Linked DNA regions of Homo sapiens: region 1 is linked to region 2. Evidence: promoter capture Hi-C in 16 types of primary human blood cells and fetal thymus (Javierre and others, 2016). All regions are on one chromosome and are shown on one strand. Each heading gives the region's core, a stretch centred on a gene start or on the middle of the fragment in contact. The rest is flanking DNA. Distances are from core to core; before and after follow the strand shown. Region 1 has its middle 820 kb from the start of LRFN5. Region 2 holds the start of KLHL28 (kelch like family member 28).

The links. The method cuts DNA at HindIII sites, captures the fragments that hold promoters and counts their contacts. A CHiCAGO score of 5 or more calls a contact.
Region 1: a fragment that was not itself captured here is called in contact with the fragment with the promoter of KLHL28 in region 2 in 1 of 17 cell types (total B cells); the score reaches 5.8 in total B cells.

The regions. Positions count from the first base shown.
Region 1 is chr14:42,421,396-42,424,830 of GRCh38, reverse strand. No RefSeq gene overlaps it. Among named protein-coding and RNA genes, the nearest start is that of LRFN5, 820 kb to the right of the region's middle. The HindIII fragment of the contact is 9,653 bases long and covers 1-3,435 here.
Region 2 is chr14:44,960,622-44,963,763 of GRCh38, reverse strand. KLHL28 (kelch like family member 28) reads left to right here and starts at 1,817. Exons shown (of 5, transcript NM_017658.5): 1 at 1,817-1,918. It overlaps TOGARAM1 (TOG array regulator of axonemal microtubules 1), which reads right to left and starts at 1,574. Exons shown (of 20, transcript NM_001308120.2): 1 at 1-1,574. The coding sequence starts at 1,342. RefSeq lists enhancers at 1,117-1,631, 1,281-2,090, 1,632-2,146, 2,661-2,750. The HindIII fragment of the contact is 5,188 bases long and covers 942-3,142 here.

The sequences.
Region 1 (3,435 bases), core at 81-2,580, 2.5 Mb after region 2:
TTGGTTTGCACATTGTGAATAAGTCAGAGGAGCTTCACACAGAACAATATTTTGCAATACATTGGTAAGGAGAGGAAATTTATCACAGAAGTTAAGGGCCCTTGCTCAGCAACCAGAATGCCTGAGCTGCATTCCAGATCCACCAGTTGTGTGATTCTGAGCAATAACCTAAGCTGTTCCATGACTAAATTTCTCCATATAGATAAGGAAAATAATTGTCCCTGTTGTTTAAGGTATAATGAGGTTTCTATGAGTCAGTGCATACAAAATGTTTAAAAAAGTGTCTTGATATAGGAAACAATCAATAAGACTTCTTAATATTAATTTGTATGATTGAAGGAATAAAAATTTTAACATTGGCTTTGGCCACATAATATTTATAATATTGGTAATGGGAAAATATCTATTTATCACATTTTAACATGCATAATTATCATTTGAGGAAAATTTATTTAATTAATTTATTTGGTTATGTTTATATAGTTATTGTAACATTGAGAAATATTGAACTTGGCCTCTCAAAAACAGAGACTGGATAAGGCATAACCGTCAGCTGTATCAACAACCTTCTGCCTTCCACAGAAGACACGCTGGAGATAATTGATGGGCTATTTGAAGAAAGACGTGCACTAGAAAGTGGAACTGGATTTCTGAATATAAAAAAAAAAATTTGAAATCTGACTGTGGAGATCCAGCTGTGTTTCTTGTGATATATATGTGAAAATACTAACCTCTTAAAAAAACACCATTAAGGCCCTCCATTACTCTGGTAAATTCATAACAAACATGAGATTCTTAGTTACTATTAAGCGTTGCCATTACTCTGTTATTTTCAATATAAGCTAAATTACTATTTTCTAGAGGGAACACCAAAAAATGTCAATTTTTAAAATTCATTCATTCAACTCAGTTGAGTAGGAAATAATAAAATATTGCTGCCAGAATGTCTTTTAGATTTACATTTATATCAGCTTTTTCTCTGTTAAAACAAAGAGTGTGCCAAGCTACAATTCCATAAATGTCAAGTGGAAACATGCTCTCACAGTTTAACTGTGTGAACAGTCCTGCATTTTCTATGGGAATACAGAGGATCTGTCATTATACAATCTTATTTCATTACTAATTAGTCTGTGATATATGAGGATTACAAAATCTGCAATGAATATAATCCCATGTATCCAATATAATTTTGCTTCTTACATTGAAATTTTTCAGGGAAATCAAAAATAAGCATACTATAAGTGAAACAAATTATTTTTATATTGACTAAAGCTGAGGGAGTATATTAAAAAATTCTAAATCTCTAAACCTAAATGTATATGTTTTATATTTTTCAACTAAGTTAATTAAAATGTCTTTTTCCCCATATTTCACTGAGTGAAGAGTGAGCATTTCAGAAGGCTTTAGAATACAAAGTTGAGTTTGACATCAAAGTGAAAAGTGGTGACATTGTATTATTAGATTAGTAAATAGTGTCATTAGAATTTAGACACTTTGTTTTTATACACCACTAAATCTTAACTCCTTGTTAAACATATGGTCTTGATTCTATTCAGAGAGAAACTACAATGGTGTCTGCCAAATATTCACAACTTGAACTGCAGAATAAAGACAATATTTCTATGTAAACTGTGCTCTCTAGGTAATAAATATATAGGGATCTATTTATCACCAAAACAACCGCTATTATTTCATAAACTGTTTTTGGCAGCTTACAAGTAGGTATTATTTTAAGGAATTATTTATAATATAGTTCACTTATTTACTTCATGAAAAACACTAAATGAATACATATTTATTTAATAAAATATTTGTTTTCAAATTTTTAAATGATTGTCTTTAAATTAAATATAAAGAAACAAAGGAGAGATAAAATTTACTTCTAGACTGAAATAATACTCTTGGATGACAAAGAACATCGAGAACTTTGATGAAAGAATAAATTTGGGAGAAAAAAAGAACAGTGAAGTAGAAGAGACTAATCATATAGAAATACTGCATGTGAATAATCAACAAGCAGGAATCTAAATAGGGAAGATACAGATTTTAGCACAGTGATATAAGTTACATAAAAAAATTGTTGTCATGATTAATAACTACTTTCATAACAGAAAGTTTTAACATAACTGACTGTTTTAGGTACCAACTCTATAGTAAGAGCTGCTTACATGTTAAGCAAAACATTGTAAAAGCTAATACGATTGTAAAAATCATGAATGGAGTTTTATCAGTGGGAACCAAGACAGAACCTCCCGGTAAGAGTGCATGCCATTCTTGAATAAATGACCAGAGTTTTAAAAATGTTTTCATAATGCTATTAATAATTGTTAAGGGCTATTTGAAATGCATCTATTATTCCAAGAATAGATAGTTAGATGGGTAACTATACGTAATAATATTTAAAAGCATAGATTTTGAGTATGTATAATAATCTTCAATGCTTTTGATACACTGGTTCTATTACTTTAGGAAAGATGTGTTTTCATCTATAAAATAAAGTTAATATTTTATATCCTATATGTATAGGCAGGCTTAATGCAATTAATATACCTAAAGCTGCTATTAATAACATATGTTTGTTACATAAAATGACAGGTGTTACTATAAAGTGCAACAGGTAATTTAGTCTAAAATACTTAGATAATAAAGTAAGACATGGCTTTGTGTGTTGCCTTTTCTCTTAATATCAATCCTAATTACCTGTCTTTATTATGTAGACATAACCTTTATGTATTAAAGGCAAATATACAAACATTGGACTTTAACTTAAGGGGTCTTTGATTAATACTGCTAAGCATTAATTTAGAAAAACAAAATGTCATGCACCAAATAACTAATAATGTGATGAAAATAATGAGATACTCCTACTGACTCAAATCCCATCAAAAAATCATCTTCTCATAATCATTATGAATCATCTTTTCAGAATGAACCTGGAGGGCATTATGCTAAGTAAAATAAGCCAGAAACAGAAAGACAGAAACTGATACTGCATGATCTGACTTACATGCTGTCTTATGGTTCTCTGGAAAGACAGAACCAATAGGATGAATGAATGGATAGATAGAAAGAAAGAAACATAGATAGATGGATAGATAGAATAGATAAGAGGGAATATACTAGAGGAATGGGCTCACAAGATTCTGAAGGATAAGGAGTCCCATGATGGATTACCTGGGAGCTGGAGAACCAGAGAGGCTGATAGCATGGCTCAGTTCAAATCTCAAGGCCTGAGAATCAGGGAGGCTGATGAGGTAATGCTCAATCTGAGGCCGAAAGCCCAAGAGCCCAGTGATCCGCTAGTACAAGTCCTGGAGACTAAAAGCCAGAGAATTTGGAGTTCAAACATCCAAGGGCGGGAGAAGAAGGGTGTGCTGGCCACAAAAGAGAAAATTATGATTTACTTTTCCCAGTACTTTTTGTTCCACCAAGGAC
Region 2 (3,142 bases), core at 568-3,067:
TGTTGTCCGCCAGCACTTTGACAGAAGCTGCTATAACTGGTCCCAAGAACTGCTGTACCTGCTCTCCAAGGCGAATAACCAGTAAATGCAGGACTTCAAGTGTGCCATGCACCACTTTGAAGTTAGAATCGTCTAACAAATTATATAGCAAACTAATGAAGCCAACAAGACTAGAATGAGGAGTAGAACTAGGGTTAAATTTTCCCAGCACCTGCTTTAGTTCTTCGACGGCCTGGGTCCGGTTCTTATAGTCTTCCTGATCCAATAATCGTGAATGCAGCTCCTGAGGAATAATCCCAAATTTAAGATTGCTGTTGGAAAGAGTCACTGCACAGGGAAGGGGATCTTCAGGAAATCCAGAGGCTTCAAGTTCCAAATAATAAGGAACCTGACTTCCAAACTGGGACTCCAGGCGGCGATTGTAGTGTCTCCTCAGGGCAGAGGGCAGACGAGAAATGTAAGATTGAAACCTGTCTTGGCCAAGTCGCTCCCCAATTTGTTGAAGTGCGGAGAAAGCTGTCTCAGATTCTTCTTCTGTCTCCTGATCACCAAGCTTTCGGGCTAGGGATATTATCACCTCGGTGAGATCCAGACCAAGCAACAAGTCCTCAGTAGTAAGCAAGATGGGAAGCAGTAGTGCTGTGGAAGCTCTAAGTCGGGCATCGGTACTTTCCAGTCCTTGTTGTATAAGCGTTCTCAGCACCTCTCCAGGACTACGTTTCAGACATATATGAAGGATCTGCAGCGCATCTTTCCGCAGGGCTGGATTCTCTTCCCGTAACGAGACAACTAGTTGAGGCAAAAGTGCTAAGCTAAAGGCCTCTTCAAGCTGGCCTGCCTCCCCCTGACCCCGGAGAACGTCCGAGAGAAGTTGCAAGCAGAGCCGCTTCTCATCACTACCTCCTTCCACAAGCACTCGGCCCAGTGCCCGATACAAAGCTTCCTTGCGTCGGGGGAAGCCAAGTCGACCGCCCCGCCGCGGCAAAGCAGCTTGCAAAGCCTGGAAGGCCTCAGAAGGATCCCGGGCAGTGCGGAGGAGTTGAAGGAGCCGAGTGTCCTCTTCATCTCCCCCTGACAAACCGCCTCCAGACTCAGACCAGCTGCTTGAGACTGCCTCCGAGGGCATCAAGAGGGCCGAGGCCAGAGGCGAAGTTGTAGTGGGGCAGGAACCGTGGTCCCCCGCAGCTCCACGGAAGTAGTAGTTTTTCTCTCCTCTCATAATGCCCCCAACTCGACTATCATCGGTCTCTGGGGCGGAAGGACGACTGCGGCTCTGGAGCCGATAGGTAGAGAGGACTGGAAAGGGCGGCAGCAGAAGCAGCGCGGAGGGGGCAGCCGCCATGCAGGGTTGTCAGGTGGTGGTGGTTGGAAGAAACCATTGCCGTCTCCAAAGGGCTCGATGGAGCCCAGACTTCCAGATCCTCTCCAAGCCCCAAGCTGCAGAAGAGGCAAAAGAACAGCTTCAGCCTGCCGCCAGGCCGCCCCCAACTCCGGGAGGCAGCCTCTGGCAAAATGGCCCCCGTCTGAGCCCTAGACCCCACAGCTGCCACCGGGCGTAACCAAGGGCACCACGTGACCAAACCGATTGCTTCCATGGTGATGTACCCAGCGCGGACCTCTTGACCCGGAAATCCACTTGCCGTGATGAATGCTGGGTTATGTAGTCCACGTCAGGTGTTGAGACTAGGCCAAAGTCTCCTGGAAGAGGAAGTCAGAACGTTGTAAACGCAGCTACAGCGGAGAAGGGAGGAGGGGTGAAGCCATTTGACGGATGTGACGCTTTCCTTGCTCTGGGCGGAAGTTGCCCGCCCCACCCGTAAGAGTTAGGGTTTGACCGGAGCTAGTGAGGATCCAGCCCAGGCTCCAGTTGTCCGCGGTTCCTCCTCCTGTCGCTGCCCGTGTGATTACTGAGACTCAGGTATTTTCCTTTTGCTGTCCTCCAGCGGTGCAGGCTTTGGCAGTGTTTTGCCCGAATGCCACTGGTGCTAGAGTAAGAGGCAAAGGACTGAGCGGAGCAGGTGGAAAGAGAGGCGACATCTTCTTGTGCAGGGCTCGTCACCCTTGTAAACGCGTTACTCTCTACCACCCTGAGTAACTGCGATCCTTTCCTCTTGCCATCTGCTTATCAGGACAGAAGATCTGGACCACGGCCAAGCTCACAAATCGGGTATTTTTTTTCAATTCCTGGTCTTTGGGGCCTTTATTCGCCTCCCCCTTCTCCTTTTGTCGACTTCTCTTAACCCTCCGGCCGCAGAGGGTTAATTTTTTTTTGTTTTTGTTTGTTTGTTTTTGGCAACGTTTCCTTACCCTCATCACTTTGCGTTTTCTTTACAACGTACATAATATGGAAATAGGTCTGTTTTTTTCCCCCTGTAGCTAACCGCCTCTCCCTTAGACGTTATCAAAATCTTTCCTTCTAATGCAGTTCCTCTGTGGGACTCTCCCCTAACCTCCGCCCCCTCCGTCTGCCGCCCTAGCCTCCCTGCAGGATCCTCAAGCGTCTCTGCAGCCTTTCAGTCTCCTAGAGACAGAGATTGCGAAGACAATTTCACTTGCGGTGGAAGTTCTTGGCATCATGGTTCTAAGAGAATTCTGCCTTGTGGATTTAGGAATGATAGTAGACATTTATTTATTTTAGGCGAACTGAGAATTTTGTGTGCATTTTCTCCTCATAAGTGATACTTAAACGGACACAGTGGAAGAGCTGGAGTGTCTAGTGTGAGCCTGAATGCTTTGGAGTGTGGAAGAGATATTTTTTTTTTTTGAAGGAATAATACTATTACTTTTGAATGACTCGTGCGAAAAGTCTAAGTTATCATTTGAAGACCCAAATTTATGCACTTCAAATGCAAGTATTCCTACCCTGCTCTGTACCAGGTGGGATTTCTCTTAAATACTTTTTAAAGTCTTGGAATAAATGAGTCACATATGCCAAACAGCTTTATAAATAATGCTCCCAGCTGATGCAAGTGCAAAAATAATTTCTGGATTTTTGCCTTAAAGTACGATTTGAATATCAGTTTTGTTTTGTTTTGTTTTTGGGGGGGTGGGGGTGGGGAATAGACTATAATGTAAATGAGGCTGTGTAAATATACATCCTATGTTTTGGTTTAAATTCTAGGCTGTTACTTTGGTTTTAATG